Regions from separate parts of the Homo sapiens genome. Here region 1 is linked to region 2. The links are contacts of gene promoters, found by promoter capture Hi-C in blood cells and fetal thymus (Javierre and others, 2016). All regions are on one chromosome and are shown on one strand. Each heading gives the region's core, a stretch centred on a gene start or on the middle of the fragment in contact. The rest is flanking DNA. Distances are from core to core; before and after follow the strand shown.

Region 1 (5,648 bases), core at 2,094-4,593, 400 kb before region 2:
TAAAACCATCTTCCTAGGGAAATTGTGTTTCTGAGTTTCCAAAGACCAACTTGCAAATCTTCTTTGGGAACCCACTCTATTTCTAGGTAAAAGCTATTCACACCTGGGAGTCCTGGGAGGCCATTTAGCTCTTAACAAGGCAGAGGCCAGTCAGGCACTTTACTGAGATCATTAAGAGACAGGTGGAGGCAACCAAGTACAGTGGGATCCCTGGGCTGGAAGTCGGGAGACATGGGTGGGAGGATGACTCTGATAGTAAAGTGTGTGAACTTAATCAACTTGCTTTCAAACACAGAGTCTCATTTCTCTCTTTTGTGAAACAAGAAAGTTGGATTTGATGGTCCCCAAGGGCCCACACTGGGCTAAAAATAACCAAAACCAGGAAAACTTTCTGACAGAGAAGGCAGAGAGAAAAAAAAAATGCCAAAGTCACATGGAAGAACTTGGCAGTGAAAAATGAACTGAAGACGCTTTTAGAAACCTCTGTGGGCTGGTTCCCTTTGCAGGTCTTCTAAGTCCCCTGGATGTTGAGGTCTGACTTCTGCCAGACCAGAAGAGTATGACCTGGGCAGGGTCTCCAGCAGCTTCTCCAGCTCACCTGTCCTCCTGCCCACTAGCCTGGGCAGTGCCTTTCCCCTGTCACTCTCTAGTCCAACTTTGGCCAACTGGTGACCCTGGGCCAGAGAAAGATCCTGAATGACTTGGGACCTCTTGAATGTTTTTATCACTACCCTTATTGCTGTTAACACATTCCTGACCTCTGACCACCTTAAGTCTCTGGGAACTTTGGTGGAAACAAATCAAACAAGTAGCAATAGAGTGTGGAAGAAAGTAAGTGGGGTGAACTCCTGAGATCTAGCTTTGGCCTGATATTAACAAGTTGAGTGACCTCAAACAGATCCTTTTCTTCCTGGATCACTGGATTTTGTCTTTTTCCTTCACTTGAGTGAAGTGAATTCTCAGGTGATAGCACCCTGTTTTTCACTTGTGGATATACCTCTCCTCTATTGTGAAATCATAATGTTTAGGTGGGACTGACCCTTCCCCCAGTTGGCAGATCCCATCCCTCTGGCCACAGTGATGGGCCACGGCTGAGAACAGGACCCAGTTAGAGCCAGTGAAAAGACTTGAGAACTGTAACTGGACTTCTGAGGGAGAAAGGTTATCTGTTCAATAGATTTGAGGTCATGAGCATGTGAGGCTTGGAGCTGCTCTAACCATCTTGCTGTCACGAAACAGCCAGCTATGAAGTAAAGCCAATACATGAATGGAGAAAAGCAGAGCAAATATAAAAGTAGACACACTGTGTCTCAATGACATTCTCTGAACTCCTAGATCAAACTGTGCCCCAAACCAAAAGCCACCCCTGGATTTAAGCCAATGAATTCCTTTGCTCATTTAAACTGGTTTAAACAGGACTTTTGGTCACTTGCAAGGGTAATAATCCTAGCTACTATACTCACATCTCTGAACCTTAATTCCCTCTACTGCAAAACAGCTGTTTTGTGGGTAGTAATTACCATAAGAGAGCATAACGGTATTATCTCTTTCAGGAGTGGCCATAATTCCAAGGTAGCAAAGACAATTTTTCAAAATGCCAAGAGCTGCTTTCTTCATTCACTAAGCATCATATTTTCAGCATCTTGGACATCTTACATGACAGCCTTTAATACATGTAATTATTATTGTTCACATGTAATTCTGCATCCCCAGCTGATGTCTCTCTTCTGAGCCTCAGATGCCATATCCATCTGAATGCTGGACACCTCCACCTAGATGTTTTCATCTCAACCTGGCAGGTCCAAAATTGAGTGGATCTTCCCACCCAACCCCAAACCCCTATCATGTTCCCAAGCAAAACCCAGCTTCCCAAGCCTGAAACCTACAAGTTGCCCTTTTCTCCTCTCTTTCTTTTTAATTCATTCCATCCACAAGGCTTGATAAGTCTGTTTTCAAAATAGCTCTCATACTTTCACCTTTTTCTCCAACTGTCCTGACAGTTCTATATTAGGGCCACCATTATCTCTTGCCTGACCACTGGAAAATATTTCTAAAAGATTTGAAGATGGCTCTCTCCTTCTGGTTCTTAATGCAGTTCCCTCCTTTCGTCCCTTTGGGCTTAGAATTAGAAACACCTCTGCTGCCACTACCCCTGGGTGACTGCATCAGCCTTTGTGCCTCCTCCTTACAAGCAAACCGTCTCTGAATTGTTCTAATTTGAGGATCCCATCTCTTTCCCATTGGGATTTTAAACCCTATAGATCCTTCCATGAACACTTTCCTCCCTACAGTCTGACTCCTGTAATGACTCCTTCTCCCTCCCTTTCCTCCTTTCCTAGACGTCTGCTTACATAGCCTAGAAAGAAGGAGGGAGGAGAAAGCGGAAAGGCTCATGGTAGCAGGGCCAGTTTTGACTTTTAAGAAGCCCTGGGGATTTGTGGGGGGAACAGTGTTCTGGCTCCAGCTATTGCTGGCAATCTTTAGAATGTGGCACTAGATCCTCTTTGTCCATTGTTTGGGGTTCTACTTGTCAATACTGGAATAATAGGAAAAGTGTGATATACCATCCTATCACATATGGCCGTCTGCAGCGGGACTTAATGAAGCTTTCAAATACACAGAGGCCTTGTCACCATAGCTCTTTCTAATGCTAGTCAATACTTTCTATGTATTAGGTTTCTTGCTAAAGCTTTGCCTTGAATGTTTACATGCGGGCAATACCCAAGAACCTAACTGGAGGCAAGACAGGTGAGGGAAGCAGGACAAACACACCCAGTCTGACCCAGTCGATAATGAGTTTTCTACATCTGAGAATGTGATATTTGTGTAACACGTTACAGTTTAACAGGAGCTTTCATCCCCCTTTAGCTGGCACATGGCTGAGTAATCAATATATGTTTTCGTAAATGATTGAATGCAACTATAGAGTCATTTTCTCCTCCTCAAAATAACCCTGTGAAGTAGGCAGTGCAGGGATTATTATTCTCACTTTACAGAAAAGGAAACCAGGGCCCAAAGAAGTGAAATAGTTTCCTGAGTCCACGTAGTCAGTGACTGTATGTGCTCAAACCAGAACCAGCAGTGTCAGGCACCCATACTAGCTCATTTCAAAAGTCAGGAAGTCAGGAAGCAGGACGGTATTCTTGATAAAATAGGGAATTGGATTGGATCAAGTGCTTAAGTGTCTTCTCAGTATTAAGTCTCTATTCCTAGCCTCCCTCAATAATCTTACAGCACAGTTGGGAGCTGCCATGGAAGGGGATGGTAGGCAGAAGTTCAGGCTGCTAACCAGCTGGGAATTGAGTAAAAGGAACAAGAGAAAGGCCTTCTGGTGCCAAGACTCTGGAGAAATGTTTGTTGACTTTTGGCTTTGCATTGACTACTTCCAACTAGGCTTTGAAGCTGACTTTTTGATCCCAGGGCTCCCTGGGATGGGTGGGGGAGCTCATGACATTGTTGCTGTGGTTCTCCAGGCAACCACAAACCCTCAGTAGCTCCAGGAAGATGCCTTAATTACGTGGAAAGCGATGAGGGAACTACAGAGAAAACAAGAGATATCTACAAGGAAAGTGGGGCAAAAACAACAAGAATCTAAAGGGCAAAACAAGAGAGGCCCCAGGGGCGAAGCAACAGCCAGCACAGCAGCACTGTGAGGATGTTGATGGTGCCTCTCCTGGAGTCCTTCAGAATAAACTTGTCCCTTATAAAACTGAACTAGAAAGTGTCTAAAGGAATGAGAGCCCTAGCTCTCAGCCAAGTCTCCTAAAATAAGTTTTAAGAGATGGAGTGATGTTCTAAAAACACAGACCTAAATATTCACTCCCTTGCTCATAAGCTCTCTTTGCTCCTTGTTACCCTCCAGATAAAGTCTGTGCTCCTCGGCAGAGCTCAAGGACACTATTCAGTTCCTCTCCATGCCCCATGACTCTCTCGAATCTGGTCTGGGCATTTGTGCAAGGTTCTCCCTCCTTGGCAAATCACTACTTATCTCAAGGTCTAAGCTTCAACATTAATTTTTCTAGGAACATCCCCTCGATCCTATTCCCATCCCCATATTAGGCACAGTGTTCCTTCTGTATGTTCCTACAACATCACGATCTTTCATAATGGCCACATCGCTGGCACCGTTAGGTGCATGTCCGTCCCCTTCTCAGATACATCTCTCACATGAAGCAGAGGTCCGGGCACTTAGGAAGTGCTCATTAAGTATCTGTTGGATAAATAATAATGAGAAACAGTCAAAATCTCTAAAAGAGCCTTCTGTTTCACCAAGCAAAGAGGAAGGAAAATAACCAAGTGTGGGACATTGAGCAAAGAGATTATTTTTAACAGGAACAGAAACCCAGACAAATAAATGGCCCTTAATTTATGTCAGGGTTATCAAGAAATATATTATGCCCTTGATAATTGTGCAGTTATAATTACTTCTTCTGGAAACTGGGCTTTGTTGGAAGAAAGATTGGAGAGATTTGGAGATAAGTTTCCTTAGGAATAAACATGGAGAATCAAAATCCACCAAATGCCTGGATATCTCGGAAAAGAGATCAAACTGAAATAAGTGAGTGGACAGAACAGCCAATGTGGGTCTGACAGAGTAGCTGCGTCTAAAGGGGCAGCTGCTTCTCAGCTCCAGCCAATTGTTGAAATGCAAGAATACCAGCAGCAGCAGCCAAATCTCGTGACTGTCCCAGAGAGGACTCAAGTCCTTGTGGGGTGTGTACGTCTGCATGTGTGAAATCCTCTGGGTTCTAAATCTCCCCAGCTTGTTTACATTTTTAATAGTTACTAATCAGTCCAAAACAGCAAGTTGTATGAGTCCCAGAGATGCCAGGGTTTGACCTTCGCACCAAAAAACCTGACCTCCCATGGCTCTGTTTACCGAAAACTGTCAACACCAAACTGCAAGCGCCAAAGCTCCAAACAACATGATCCACCTGCAGAAAGTGATCAATACATGAGGGACTAAAGAAGAACAGAGGTTTGTCTGGGTCAGTTATTGGCACATAGTAAGTGGGTGCTCAGTCAATAAATAGCTGTTAAATGGGATAAAGAATAAGGAAATGGTGGATGTATGTCTGCAGTTCAAGGTTTGTACCACTAGATGGTGAAGTTTGTTTTTTTTCTGCAGATGTAAGCATAGAGAAATAAAATACTAGGATAGTTTTATGGATACATCTACAAGCCATGAGTACATAGCTCGGACATCCCACAAATGCTAACAGCTGTTTTCACATCGTCTTCGCTATTCCTCCTCACTTCCAACTCCAGTCAGCTCCGGATAAAAATAAAGTCATTAAAAGTAGCTGGCTTTCCTTGATATGAGAAGGACCATGTTAGAAATAGAGGATTACTAGAATTATACAACCTCCCAAGACTGAGCCAGGAAAAAGTTCAAACTCTGAACAAATTACGAGTTCCTAAATTGAATCAGTAATAAAAATCCTACCAACAAGTAAAAACCCAGGACCAGACAGATTCACAGCCGAATTCTACCAGACATATAAAGAAGAGCCAGTATTATTCCTATCGAAACTTTGCAAAAAATGGAGGAGAAGGACTCCTCTCTAACTCATTCTATGATGTCAGCATCATCCTGATTCCAAAACCTGGCAAAGACTCAACAACAACAACAAAAAAGGAAACTTCAA
Region 2 (6,004 bases), core at 1,181-3,680:
TCAGGAAGGCTGGAAACGGCACCTGGGCTCTTCCCCAGGCCACCATCGGGTTTAGCTAATTTATATTTTGCTTAGTTAATTGTCTCCCCGCTGTCCCAGGATTGGATTTATGCTTATGAGGTTGGAGTTCTTTTTATTTCTTTATTTTTTATTTTTTCTGCAATCATCCATTATTGGGTAGAGCTCTTGTCTGTCCTGTTCTCCACGGTATCCCCAGAAGCCAGCACTGGGGCTACCACAAAGCATACCCTCGATAAATAATTGCTGAGTGAATGAACTAATGAATGAATATCATGCTTTCATTTGACTATTTCTTATAATTTGAAATTTTCTGAACATTGAGGCCTTGGGTGATAACTAAATATGCTCATGGAATAGAACAGTTAATTTTACATGTCTAATTTATCTGAACTTTCTCCCAGAAAAATGTTTTTCCAAGCATTAGAATCTAGCAAGTTACCTGCAACTTGGAAACTGAACAAGGAATCCCATCTGAAAATGTAGAGGACACATAAAGTGGAATAATTTAAATATTTACTAATCACTTACGTTTTCAAAGCTATTTTAGGCCTCTACCCTTTTCAAAGAGCTGTCTATGAATCACCTGGGATGCTTGTTTCAAATGCTGAGCAAGGGAGTCCAGGGCCTGGGAATCTGCATTTTTGGAGGTATCTCAGGCGTTTGTTATCGACACAAAATTTTAAGAACGACCGTGAGGACATTAGGGCTATTTTTACCTCCACCCCATTGGACAAAATTCTTTTTTAAAAAATTATTATTATACTTTAAGTTCTAGGGTACATGTGCACAACGTGCAGGTTTGTTACCTAGGTATACATGTGCCATGTTGGTTTGCTGCACCCATCAACTCATCATTTACATTAGGTATTTCTCCTAATGCTATCCCTCCCCCAGTCCCCTATCCCACAACAAGCCCCAGTGTGTGATGTTCCCCTCCCTGTGTCCATGTGCTCTTATTGTTCAACTCCCACTTATGAGTGAGAACATGTGGACAAAATTCTTAACAATCTATCAAATGTGTTTCAAATCTATTGATCCTTAGGTTTATCCAAAGATTCTTTAATCCTGATCACCTCTCGGGGTCATGAGCCATATCCTTTTTTTCCTCCCTGTGTAAGGTAGAAACGTTGTATTTATCTAAAAGCATTGTATAAAAACATCGTATTTGTCTTTCCCCAATTTTAATAGGGCAGCTATCTAATCTCACACTGATATCCCAGACTTTAGTGCACTGAGCCACTCTCACACAGGATCAAGCTAGAAGTGAGAAGATCTGGTCCGATTCTGCCACAAGATGCTGTGTGTCTTAGGGCACGTTGCCCAGCCTCTCTGACACCCTGTTTCCTTGTCTAAGCTGGGGCTGTGAGTGTTCACAGCCTTTTGAGTCTGCACATGCTCTAATTGAAGTCATGCTATAGACAAGGATCATGTGCCCTCACAGTCTTGTTTTTCAGCACTCAAAAGTCATGCTTCTATGATCATGAATTAGGTTCAGAAAGTGACAGAGTAAGTAGTCACAGGAATGTAAAGAGCCCTACCCCACTGAATCAATTGTGACTAAAACACTTTGGAATATAAACTTCTACAATACACACGTATAAGACATAATTACAAAAAAAAAAAAAAAAACAACAACAACTTGGGGGAAGAGTTAGTTGACCATATGAAAACTAGGGTGGACCTGTGAGGCCACATACCTGCTGTTCTCCTCAGACGGGGAAGTGTTTCAGGGTGGGGCGCCTAGGCAGTCTACTCTTAGGGCTGTGTAATATTAAACCCAGAAAATGTCTGGGTTGCTCTGTCAACAAATATTTATTGGTAGCCACTATATGCCGGGCCCTGTGCTAGGTATTGGGGGCCTGTAGGTGAACCCTACGGACAGACCCATTCTTTCACGGAGCTAACATTCTCGTGGGGAAAAGAGGTAATAAACAATTCTAATGATGAATCAGCGATAGAGGATAAAGGGAATCTGTGAGGGAAGAGGGGACATAAACGCTGGGAGGCTGGAAGAGCCCCTTACGTGTTATCCACTTGTCCAGACGCCATATTCATAGTTGAGAAAGATGAGGCAGAGACGGTAGTGACCGGCTTGAGCCTAGACTGCGCCAAGCTTGCCAGAGCAGAGCCGGGTGGAAACTGTCTTCCTGCAAAGCCAGGTTTTCCTTCACGGCCCCTCCTAATGATGTTTCTTTTCCTATCATTGTCGAGCCCTTAGAACCCCAGGATCGAGGGAGGGAAAACAAGCGCTCAAGCACTCCCTCGTTGGTCCCAGGACACAAGGCCTCGTCCATCTCACAAGGCCTCGTCCATCTCCCATCACACCCTAGGGCCCAGGCAGAAGCCCGGCGGGGCGGGGCCTCGGACACGCGCCGGTGCGTCCAGCAGGTGGCAGCAGCGAGCGGCCGCGCCCCCTGCGCTGCCAACCCGCGAGCCCGCATCATGGATGTCGAGCTCCCCTATTTCGCATTGCTAGCCCTGGAATTCGAGACCCCAGACGAGGACCAGGATTCATGAAATCAGTCGCAGGGGCCGGGGCAGGGGCCTCTGGCTCCCGACACTGGCCGAGAGGTGGGTTCCGGGGCGGGTCGCTGCTCCTTGAAGCCGGGCGGGGACGCGCTGCCCCCGCCCTGCCTCCCTGTGGTCCACACCCCCTTTGGGCTCCGGAGCCGCTGGGCAGGAATAGTCCGGGGTGCGCGCGAGCAGGCGCTGCCAACCCCACTTCTGCCCGGGATTCCAATCTGAGGAGCAGGAGGACCGGGGCGCCGGTGTCCTGCCGCCTCCTTCTCCTTGCTCTCACCTGCGCCTATTAGTCCACGCGCCTTCAAGGCCAGGGGCTACAGCCCAGACAGAGAGGGGACAGCAGAGGGAGAGAGAGCACCTGAGGATACAGAGCTGGCACTGGACTGCCTTTTCACCCCCCAGGTGATGAGTGAGGTTCGAAGAACGGAAGATTTAAAAAGCAGCCGGGGCCTCCGTATTGAATGAAAGACCCAGTGCAAAGACATCACCATGAACACTAGCAGTAAGTGGATCCTCCTCTCCTTTGCCATGGGAACAGGGGTGGGGGCGGGAGGTGAGGGAGCCTGCGCTCGGGCTGCCTGGAAAGAGGAAGGAAGCCTGGCATCTCTGGACACATGACCCCCAGGCTCTTTTTTGGTGCTTTCCGTGCTCCTTGGCAGAGGGATAGCTTCATGACTCTGGCTTTTCGTGATAATTTTGCCAATATTTTATCAGCGGCGCCGGCCGCCTCTCCTGGGAAGGCTGCTCGTCTCCTTCTAGCACTGCCTGGGAAGGCCTAGGAAGCAGTGTGTGGCCATTGTCTGACTGTGGGGGCTCTGAGGAGAACTCCCTGCACACATCTGGAAAACCATGGAGGGCCCTGCCTGTCCCAGAGGTGGGAAGAGCAGGGAGGCTGGCCTGTGGGCAGGCGGGAGGGTAGGTGGGTGTGGGCAGGCAGTGGGCTGGGAAGCCGCAGTTTGATAAACAAATAATCGCCAAGCCACCTTTGGGTCTGGAGATTGTGAAAGATCCAGCTCCCGAGTGCCTGCAGCCCGGTGGGCCCAGGGCTGGTTTCTCTATGTACCTGCAGGCTGGTTAGCTATCCTTGAGAACAAGAAGACAGGAACAGCCCTTTGGCCAAGGGCTCTAACATGCCAGAGGCAACAACTGCTTGCAGAGCCAGGACCAGATATTTTGCTGCCAGGTAGGGCCTCAGCTACTGAGAATGCAGTCCGAAATTCAAGAAGGCACAGTCTGTTTCTCTTCAATGTAGCGCTGTGACCTGGGAGGGCATATCTTGGTTCCAGACTCACTCTCCTGCCCTCTTGTCAGCTTGGCCTGTCTAGGTTATTCCAGCATCGCATAGGGCTGTTGAACCAGAGAACCCCTATGAACAGTCACTTCCCTGGGTCTATGACTTTGTTATCAGTCCCCTCTCTGCATCTCAGACTGCTCATCTGTATGATGAGAGGGGTTGAATTAGAAAGCCTTCTAATCGGCCAGGCACCGTGTTCCATGCCTGTAATCCCAGCACTTTGGGAGGCAGAGGCAGGTGGATCACGAGGTCAGGAGTTCGAGACCAGCCTGACCAACATGATGAAACCCCGTCTCTACTAAAAACACAAAAATTAGCCAGGTGTGGTGGTGTGGGCCTGTAATCCCAGCTACTCAAGAGGCTGAGGCAGGAGAATTGCTTGAACCTGGGAGGCAGAGGTTGCAGTGAGCCGAGATCACACCACTGCACTCCAGCCTGGGCGACAGAGTGAGACTCTGTCTCAAAAAATAATAATAATAATAATAAAAGAAAGCCTTCTAATCTAAGAATCTACACTTTTTTTCTTAAAAAGCTAGAGCTGAGCAACAAGGCCAGAACTATCAAGACCTTATTGAAGCTGTATCCAGCCAAAACCTACTATTTCCTCACACACCCCACCCCACCCCCACCTCCTAGCATGGAAGAGAAAAAAAAAAGCAAAAGCTACTGAGATGAAAATAAAATATATTTATTTACTACGTATTTGTATGATTCATCTCTCTGCTGTCTTCCTTTGTGTATTGCATATCTATGCTAAGCTAGCGAGTGTGGCTGGACTCCCTCTGCCTCTTACAGCCAAAGAATTTTGCCTTTTGATTTTGACAGGCTGGAATGGTGTTTTGGCTTCATACCAGGCTCAGGAAAAGAGGAAAATCCTGTAGCCTCTATCAGCTAGTGGGTCACATGTTTGCATTTGCATGTTTTCAGGCAAATAAAGATGTGAGTTGCCTGTCACTTCTCACTATCTCTAGGAAAAAAAAATGTATTTATGAGAGTCCTTTCCCACTAAGTGACAGAAAAGAAAGATGGCTCATCTATTTTTCAAGGAACTAAGAAAAGAAACAGGCAACTGACTCTGCCCTTTTCTCTCTCTGGAATGCTAAGGAACTCTTGTCCTATTAGTAACACTGAGTATTCCTGAAAGAAGGAAACAGACTATCCTTCTTTTAAGAAAAAGAAAGAAAGAAAAGAAAAAAGAATCAATAGAGTTGGATACTGCAGAATATGAGGACTGGCAAAAATGCCACTACTTTTTATAAGCAGGGAGAGTGTGTGAATTTTGCAGTAATGGAAAATGAACAGAGGAGAATGGCTCAGCAGCCTTGGAAGCCCTCCGGGTTCCCCCCAGGAGGAAGTGCTTCTCTAAACAGACACCTGGGGGACACAGCAAGCACAGAGCTTTGAGGGCTTAACTCCATCATCATGGAGGTACCTCCCAAACCCACGAGTCTGCAAATGCAGAGAGTAGACATCAGACCTCACAAGAAAAGGAGTAACAGAGCCATAGGGTGATATGGATAGGGCATTGGCAGGAGGTCCTTGGGTCACCTGACTAAGCAAAAAAGCTCCCCTTTGAGATGTGAAATTCTTAACTTGATCCTCATGCCTGATATTGTCCCTAATAGAAACTCTTGCTTAGTTTTTCTTTCACTTCTATTTATTTAGTCCTTATTCTCCACCAGCCACCATGCTAAGCACTCCCCTGATTGAGCTCACCAGACTGTCCCACCCAACCTGTGAGATGGGTGTTTTTACTCATTTTATGGGTGAAAATTTGAAGCTGTGTTCAGAAACGTTGTAGTTAATGCTCAGTGGCTTCTTCAAGTCATGCAGTTAATTGTTGGGTTATGAAAGGTACTTGGATGTGTAACACATTTGACACTGAGTACAACTCCTAATCAATGATTCAAATGTCAACACTGAAATAGAGGCAAAGCATGAGATTACAATCATCCCTTTGTACACATGGGGATTGGTAAAACTGTGCATACTAAGTCCTGCAGTCAGCCCTGTGGAACCTGCTTATACAAAGAGTCAGCCCTCAGTGTAGGCAGGTTTCAAATTCTGCAAATACTGTATTTTTTTAAATTTCAACTTTTATTTTAGATTCAGAAGGTACATGTGCAGGTTTTGTTACATGGGTATATTGCATGATGCTGAGCTTTG

Evidence for each region. Contacts are between HindIII fragments. The CHiCAGO score rates a contact against its expected background, and 5 or more counts as called.
Region 1: a contact is called between a fragment that was not itself captured here and the fragment with the promoter of ABLIM3 in region 2, in 1 of 17 cell types (erythroblasts). The highest score is 6.3, in erythroblasts.

The regions. Positions count from the first base shown.
Region 1 is chr5:148,736,359-148,742,006 of GRCh38, forward strand. No RefSeq gene overlaps it. Among named protein-coding and RNA genes, the nearest start is that of HTR4, 85 kb to the left of the region's middle. The HindIII fragment of the contact is 1,312 bases long and covers 2,688-3,999 here.
Region 2 is chr5:149,139,063-149,145,066 of GRCh38, forward strand. It overlaps ABLIM3 (actin binding LIM protein family member 3), which reads left to right and starts at 2,431. Exons shown (of 24, transcript NM_014945.5): 1 at 2,431-2,592; 2 at 2,947-3,046. The coding sequence starts at 3,034. It overlaps LOC124901102 (a long non-coding RNA gene), which reads left to right and starts at 3,054. Exons shown (of 2, transcript XR_007058988.1): 1 at 3,054-3,727; 2 at 4,371-4,536. RefSeq lists a silencer at 2,297-2,546 and enhancers at 2,852-3,353, 3,354-3,853. The HindIII fragment of the contact is 6,101 bases long and covers 2,133-6,004 here.